Linked DNA regions of Homo sapiens: all the other regions are linked to region 3. Evidence: promoter capture Hi-C in 16 types of primary human blood cells and fetal thymus (Javierre and others, 2016). All regions are on one chromosome and are shown on one strand. The core of a region is centred on a gene start or on the middle of the fragment in contact, and the rest is flanking DNA. Distances in the headings are between cores, read along the strand shown.

Region 1 (2,700 bases), core at 174-2,673, 560 kb before region 3:
GCTTAATTCACTTCCTAGACAGTGAAAGTGAAGTTTGTAACCATCTGTCAGAAAGTGATACAGTTAGGAAAATGTAGTTATATGTCAGCTAACTCCATTTCACTCAACAAACCGTATGATTAACACAGGTGTGTTCACAGGAAACACAGTGAGTGTTGGTCTTTGCTTAATGGAGTCTCAAGAAGACATTTTCAATGCTACAGGAGGCCTTTTCTTTCCCCTGCTAGAAAATTCATAGTCTTGTGACATTTTTTGGCAGTATGTGAAAATACAAGGAATTGATGGTGTGGATTCCTTGACACTTTAGGGAGGACTGCAAAGGGTTCAGAGCTTTGCTTCTAGTTTTTGATGGCATGAGATCCCATTTAGAAGCTCCTCTGAATGCTCACTGTAGCCAGCTTTTAAGTACAATGAGTTTGTTTGCTAACTATTATTATTTTGATATTAAAAAAATCAAACGGCTACTATTGGATTGCTTGCTTCTGTGGATCGCTAGGACTTTCAAGTAGAACTTAAATTCCAGTTCTAGAAATCCAGATAAATATTTAGAAGCTTCTGTGCATATTTGTGGAAGTCAGGGATGCGTTCAAGTTGGAGTGCACCAACAAACTCCTCCATTTCTTCAGCCAAAAGCCCCTGCCTTCCTCATAGAAAGTACACCTCCATGGGACACCTGAAATGGATTCCTTTCAACTTGAAGCTCTGTGAAATCAACGTTTGGAAGTGTCTGTGCTTGGTGACTATGCTTATGGCTGAAGTGCAACAAAATATTATAGTAATTTTTGTCTGCTTTACTGACACTTACACCTCTGACAGCACTTAGTTTGTGAGAACTGGAGTTGGGGGCTCATTAATAAATATTAACTGTTGGAGGAGAGTTCAGAGTTTCTCTCTACGCTCTCTCAGCTTGGTAAGGGCTGATTAGATTTAATGATACAGACTGGGCCACATTTGCTCTCGGGTGGCTTTCCTCTATGTTCATAGAGTCTCTCTGGGGTGAATCCTATGACCTGTCTGTGAGAACCAGTTGAAAGCACAAGAGATTCCGGTACTAAACATTGATAACAGTGTCAGCAACCTTCCTCTGTCAATGCTGTAAGGCCAGGGTTGAAATTTAGCCAAGTTTTATGCTTGTTGATTCCTGCCCCTCACTACTTACTCCAATTTCACTTCTTAAAAATGTGGTCACTATCCAATATTCTTTTTTTTTTTTTTTTTTTTGAGATGAATCTCGCCCTGTCCTCCAGGCTGGAGTGCGATGGTGCGATCTTGGCTCACTGCAACCTCCACCTCCTGGGTTCAAATGATTCTCCTGACTCAGCCTTCCCAGTATCTGAGATTACAGGCACCCGCCACCATGCCCAGCTATTTTTTTTATTTTTTATTTTTTATTTTTAGTAGAGACGAGGTTTCACCATGTTGGCCGGGCTGGTCTCGAGCTCCTGACCCCATGATCTGCTCGCCTCAGCCTCCCGAGTTGCTTGTGAATTGCCTTTGTTCCTGGTTTAGGTGGCATGAGGCATTGAAGCTGTGCTTTCACTTCCTAAGATTAGAACTAGGACACTGGAGACTGTGTCTTTTGATTCTTCTTTCTGAGAATTCTTTCAAATAGCTTCAGGTCCACTTCCTGTAAGCAAATTAACGTTTTGACTGTGAGATTTGCACTGGCCTTAACGAAGTATTCATGATTCAATTGAAAGCAATTTAGCGATTGCTGTAGTGAGTACTGACAGAAATCTTCAAAATGTCTAGCCCTAAACTACAAGAGTTTGTTTGGAATGGTTATCTATAGCATGTCAACGAATCACAACAGCTACTTGTTTCAAGTTCTATTTTTGAAAGCAAAGTACAGCAGCCTTGAAAGTCCTGAACTGGAGGAAGAAAAAGGAATCAGAAGAGTCAATAGAATGACATTTCCTGGCTTTTCTAAAAAAATAATAGGCCTCAAAAAAAATTAGCCGGGTGTGGTGGTGGGCACCTGTAGTCCCAGCTACTTGGGAGGCTGAGGCAGGAGAATGGCGTGAACCCGGAAGGCGGAGCTTGCAGTGAGCCAAGATCACGCCACTCACTGCACTCCGGCCTGGGCGACAGAGCAAGACTCAGTCTCCAAAAAAAAAAAAAAAAGAAAGAAAGAAAAAGAAGAAATATCCATCCATCATTTTCAATACCTAGGATATGAATTTAATCACATGGGGTGGCTTAGTTCTCCCCAAAACTTGAAGGAATCCTCACCAGCATCTCCTACATGTGTATTTCCTGTGAATAAAATGGTAGCAGCACTTAAGCAGGGAAATGAAGCTTTGATCATGCATCGGCTTCAGTACCAGTGACAGCAAGAAACAACACAGGTACACCCCAATATTTCTCTTGTTGTCTGCTATTGGTTTCTGAATAACAGCATTTAGTTTTTTTTCTCAATCTTGAAAGCCTGAGCAGCAGCTCTGCAATGTGAATCTAGCTCTTAAAGTTTTTGTAAGAAGCAAAAAGTGACTATAGCTGATGAAATGTATTTAAGTGTGTAGCAAACTCAAATGCCCTCTAGGTGGAGTATTCACAGACACTGGCAGAAATCTCTAATGGGGCTGACTTTATTTATAAGCAGGCAGTGCATATTGAAACTGATATCTTGGCTCTCTGTGCATCTTTAGGGGAGCAACACCAGCTGTTCTTTGGAAATTTGCAAACAAACTTGCAGTTGTT
Region 2 (2,700 bases), core at 192-2,691, 580 kb before region 3:
GTTTTCTTTCACCAGGGAGATAAACACAGGATTGATCAGGTATAGCTTTATGTAATTGATCTAAGCAATACTTTGACCAAGACAGAAGCCCCTGGCTACATCTTTACCAGCAACAGAAGAAATTAAACCCTTCTTAGTCAGGACTAGAGAACTTGACACTGTCACAACGTGAGTAAAACTGAGAGAGGCTGATGGGAGCAGAGCATCCCATCTATGCAGGAGAATCCCTGTCCCGGAGCAAGCAGGAGGCTGATGGGAACAGAGTATCCCATCTATGCAAGAGAATCCCTGCCTTGAGACAAGCAGGACCAGCATGCACCAAGGTGCATGAAATTCCTGCGATAAACATCCAGTTATCCATGTTAAGACGAGCACCTTGTCATCACCCAGCCAAGATGTTCTTCTTTACGGGCAAGTCAATTCCTGTTGCCTGTTTCTTTTCTTCCTTTCTTTTTTTTTTTGAGACAGAGCTTCACTCCTGTTGCCCTGGCTGGAATGCAATGGCGTGATCTCTGCTCACCACAACCTCTGCCTCCTGGGTTCAAGTGATTCTTATGCCTCAGCCTCCTGAGTAGGGATTACAGGCATGTGCCACCAAGCCCGGCTAATTTTATATTTTTAGCTGAGACAGGGTTTCTCCATGTTGGTCAGGCTGGTCTCGAACTCCAGACCTCAGGTGATCTGCCCGCCTCGGCCTCCCAAAGTGCTGGGATTACAGGCAAGAGCCACTGCGCCCGGCCTCCTGTTGCCTGTTTCTTAGGGTCCCCTTTGTGTATTTGAAAATTAAAACATGAACCTGGGGCCTTTAGAGTGAGAATATCTCCTGGCTTCAGGGTTGTGACTTAACCTCTTAGTAGCCATCTCTATTTTATTTTATTTTTAAGCATGTCATCACTTTTAGGTGTGCAGTTCAATGGCATAAAGTATATTCACACTCTTGTACAACCATCACCACCACCCATTTCCAGAACTTTTTTCATCTTGTGAAACTGAAACTCTGTCCTCATTAAGCACCAGCTCCCCCTTCCCCCTGGCCCCCATTCCTGGCAATCACCACTCCACTTTGTCTGTATGATTTTGACTACTCTAGCTATCTCATATTAGTGGACTCATGCAGCATTGTCCTTCTGTGATTGGCTTATTTAATTTAGCATAATATCTTCCAGGTTCATCCATGTTATAGTATGTGTCAGAATCTCCTTTATCAAGGCCGAATAACATTTCATTGTGAGTATACACCACATTTTGTTTATCTGTGCGTTGGTCAATAGACACTTGGGTTTCTTCCACATGTTGGCTATTGTGGATAATGCTGCTATGAACATGGGTGTATAAATATCTGTTTGAGTGCCTTCTGTTAAATCTTTTGGGTATATACTTAGATGAAATTGCTGGATCTTATGGTAATCCTACTTTCAATTTTTTGAGGAACCACCATACTGTTTTCCATAGCAGCTGCACCATTTCAAATTCCCACCAATGGCACATAAGTTTTCCAATTTCTCCACATTCTTGCCAACAGTTGTTATTGTCTTTTTTTTTTTAAATTTATTATTATTATACTTTAAGTTTTAGGGTACATGTGCACAATGTGCAGGTTAGTTACATATGTATACATGTGCCATGCTGGTGCACTGCACCCACTAACTTGTCATCTAGCATTAGGTATATCTCCCAATGCTATCCCTCCCCCCTCCCCCCACCCCACAACAGTCCCCAGAGTGTGATGTTCCCCTTCCTGTGTCCATGTGTTCTCATTGTTCAATTCCCACCGATGAGTGAGAATATGCGGTGTTTGGTTTTTTGTTCTTGCGATAGTTTACTGAGAATGATGATTTCCAATTTCATCCATGTCCCTACAAAGGATGTGAACTCATCATTTTTTATGGCTGCATAGTATTCCATGGTGTATATGTGCCACATTTTCTTAATCCAGTCTATCATTGTTGGACATTTGGGTTGGTTCCAAGTCTTTGCTATTGTGAATAATGCCGCAATAAACATATGTGTGCATGTGTCTTTATAACAGCATGATTTATAGTCCTTTGGGTATATACCCAGTAATGGGATGGCTGGGTCAAATGGTATTTCTAGTTCTAGATCCCCGAGGAATCACCACACTGACTTCCAAAAGGGTTGAACTAGTTTACAGTCCCACCAACAGTGTAAAAGTGTTCCTATTTCTCCACATCCTCTCCAGCACCTATTGTTTCCTGACTTTTTAATGATTGCCATTCTAACTGGTATGAGATGGTATCTCATTGTGGTTTTGATTTGCATTTCTCTGATGGCCAGTGATGGTGAGCATTTTTTCATGTGTTTTTTGGCTGCATAAATGTCTTCTTTTGAGAAGTGTCTGTTCATGTCCTTCGCCAAGTCAATCCTAAGCCAAAAGAACAAAGCTGGAGGCATCACACTACCTGACTTCAAACTATACTACAAGGCTACAGTAACCAAAACAGCAAGGTACTGGTACCAAAACAGAGATATAGATCAATGGAACAGAACAGAGCCCTCAGAAATAATGCCACATATCTACAACAATCTGATCTTTGACAAACCTGAGAAAAACAAGCAATGGGGAAAGGATTCCCTATTTAATAAATGGTGCTGGGAAAACTGGCTAGCCATATGTAGAAAACTGAAACTGGATCCCTTCCTTACACCTTATACAAAAATCAATTCAAGATGGATTAAAGA
Region 3 (2,700 bases), core at 151-2,650:
TGGGACCAGCTGACAGGTGCTCAGTGGTTTCCAAGAGGGGTGAAAGTACAGCTCCTAGCAGCAAAGCGGAGGGTTGGGGTGAGCCAGAGACTAGGGCAGCATTGCTGGGAGACTCTGGCTTCCTTCTGTGGAGCTGCAGATCAGACCTTTTCCCCTCTGCCTTCTCACTGCTCCAGCACTATGATTATTTCCTCATCTGAAGGATGATCTCATTCCCCTAGCACCCGCCTGTGGGAGAGGTTTCCTCCCCCTGGGAGGCGGGGGCTCAGCCTCAGGTGGAGACAGATTCCCTCATATTCCCTCTCAACCTCCCACCCATCCCTCGAGCCTCAGCAGGCCACCTCTGGCCATCCCACCTTGTATTCTCTTGGTCTTAAGACAGGGGGTATCCCTTCCCAGGGCATTCAGATAAGGGTGCCTGAACATTCCTGACCTCTCCCTCCGACCCCCATACAAACACACACACACACACACACACACACACACACACACACACACAGCATTCTGGAGACCTGCTCATGTTCAGGACAACAAGACTCCACCACACCTGATTGTGTCTTCCTGGGAGAAATAAAACAAAGACAGCACCGCCACGTGGGGACAGCTGACTGCTGGACATCAAAACCCTGGGTCCCAGGATGAGAAATGAATGATGCCTAAACTCCTGGCAAGTGTGGTGGGCTGAATAAGGAGGGGGACTGGCCAGGGCCCCAGTCAAGGACCAGGGCGTGGCAGTTCTGGGTGTCTGCAGTTTTCAGCTTTGGAGCCAGCCACCTCTGGCCAGGTAGGATTAGGCTGACCTCAGGGTGGGGCGGGGCCAAGAGGAGGTGATGATCTCATTGCATCCTTAGAACCAAGAGAAAAAAGTAACCCGTGCATAGAGCCGAAGGAAAAGATGTGTGATCAAAATGGGAATGGGAGACAAGAAAAGCTGTGTCTGAGGAAGAAAAGGTAAAAACACAGGAGAGCTTCCCACTTGAAAGGGATCTTCAGGTCACAGCCAGCTGCAGGGGCAGCCAGACTCAGCACAAAACCTTTCTCCTTAAGCAACAAAACATTTTTATGCAGAAATAGCTCACCATAGCATCTGACAATTCCCACCCATCCTGCCTCTCCTGAGCTCTGGAATAAAAGTGGCACCCGGAGCCCACCCTCACCCCTTGGCCGAGCGCCATTCTTTCTGCCTCACCCCCTTTCCCCCAAGATCTGACAAAGTTTAAATGATTGAGTAGAACCAAAGGTGACACAATAGGTGCTAGGCCCCTCGCTTCTCCCCACTGTAGCTGCTGTCTTGTTTTTTCTTTTGCCTGAAAAGCCTCAAATTAGTTGCATTTTATTTCTACTTACGTGCAGTCCAGTTAGAAGCGAGCTGCTCTCTTCCTCACTCCCTCAATTAGTGGTACCCTGGGCTTCTCTCAACATCAGCACCACTGCTCGCTCTTGCCATGACATCACCTCCAAGCTCTGTGATTGGCCAGCAGTGGGTTGCTTGGCAATTGGACAGTCTCCTCTGGTGGAGCAGGGATTGCCTGAGTGAGTAACTCTTAGCAGGCCAGGGAGTGAAAGATGATGTCAGACAAAGAGCCTGCTTTCTCTGCTGCCTGTGGAGCTGGAGAACCAGAGGGGTGAGGGCGGAGAGGAAGAAAGAAAGAGGGAGTGGTACAGAGAAGGTTGGGGAGAAGCCACAGCTTGCGAGCTGGGGGTATAATGAATGATTTCCAGGATCTTTAGGTCCTTTAAATTTGGGGGTGAGAGAATATGGAATCCAGAGAAGAAATAAAAAAGAACAGATGAACCCTAAAAATAGCTTCCTGGAGGGCTTGGTGCCTGTTTCCAGCTCTGTCAGAAGGGCTGGTGGGTTTGAACGATGACTCAGAAGGCGGGGGGTTGCGGGGACTGCAAAAACCCCAGGATTGGGAGCTGATGAGGGCCCTGCACTGGAGTCTCTGGAGAATAAGGCTTCCCTCTGGCCACCTTTGCAAAGGTATCAGCCACATCTCTGCTGACACTAGTGGGTCCTCACTGCCCCTCCCATCCAGCCCTCCTGGGCCTTCCAGAGGGAGCCACAGGTAGGAAGATGGACTGGTCATTACACTGGTGATTCCCAAATATGGTGGATTTTTTAAAATTTTCAGTAAGTTTTTGGGAAACAGGTGGTGTTTGGTTACATGAATAAGTTCTTTAGTGGTGATTTCTGAGATTTTGGTGCACCATCACCCGAGCAGTGTACGCTGTCCCCAGTGAGTAGTCTTTTATCCCTCACTCTCCTCCCACTCTTTCCCCCAAGTCTCCTAAGTCCCTTGTATCATTCTTATGCCTTCGCGCCCTCCTAGCTTAGCTCCCACTTATGAGTGAGAACATATGATGTTTGGTTTTCCATTCCTGAGTTACTTCACTTAGAATAATGGTCTCCAATTCCACCCAGGTTGCTGCAAATGCCATTATTTCATTGCTTTTTATGGCTGAGTAGTATTCCACGGTGTGTGTGTGTGTGTGTGTGTGTGTGTGTGTGTGTGTGTGTATTACATTTTCTTTATCCACTTGTTAATTGGTGGGCATTTGGGCTGGTTCTATATTTTTGCAATTGCGAATCATGCTGCTATAAGCATGCATGTGCAAGTATCTTTTTTGTACAATAACTTCTTTTTCTCTGGGTAGATACCCAGGAGTAGGATTGGTGGATCAAATGGTAGATTTACT

What was found. The method cuts DNA at HindIII sites, captures the fragments that hold promoters and counts their contacts. A CHiCAGO score of 5 or more calls a contact.
Region 1: a fragment that was not itself captured here is called in contact with the fragment with the promoter of STMN4 in region 3 in 3 of 17 cell types (M1 macrophages, M2 macrophages and endothelial precursors); the score reaches 5.8 in M1 macrophages.
Region 2: a fragment that was not itself captured here is called in contact with the fragment with the promoter of STMN4 in region 3 in 1 of 17 cell types (M2 macrophages); the score reaches 6.9 in M2 macrophages.

The regions. Positions count from the first base shown.
Region 1 is chr8:26,698,766-26,701,465 of GRCh38, forward strand. No RefSeq gene overlaps it. Among named protein-coding and RNA genes, the nearest start is that of ADRA1A, 170 kb to the right of the region's middle. The HindIII fragment of the contact is 1,746 bases long and covers 551-2,296 here.
Region 2 is chr8:26,674,308-26,677,007 of GRCh38, forward strand. No RefSeq gene overlaps it. Among named protein-coding and RNA genes, the nearest start is that of DPYSL2, 160 kb to the left of the region's middle. The HindIII fragment of the contact is 4,129 bases long and covers 1-2,700 here.
Region 3 is chr8:27,257,004-27,259,703 of GRCh38, forward strand. It overlaps STMN4 (stathmin 4), which reads right to left and starts at 1,401. Exons shown (of 7, transcript NM_030795.4): 1 at 1,348-1,401. The HindIII fragment of the contact is 11,371 bases long and covers 1-2,700 here.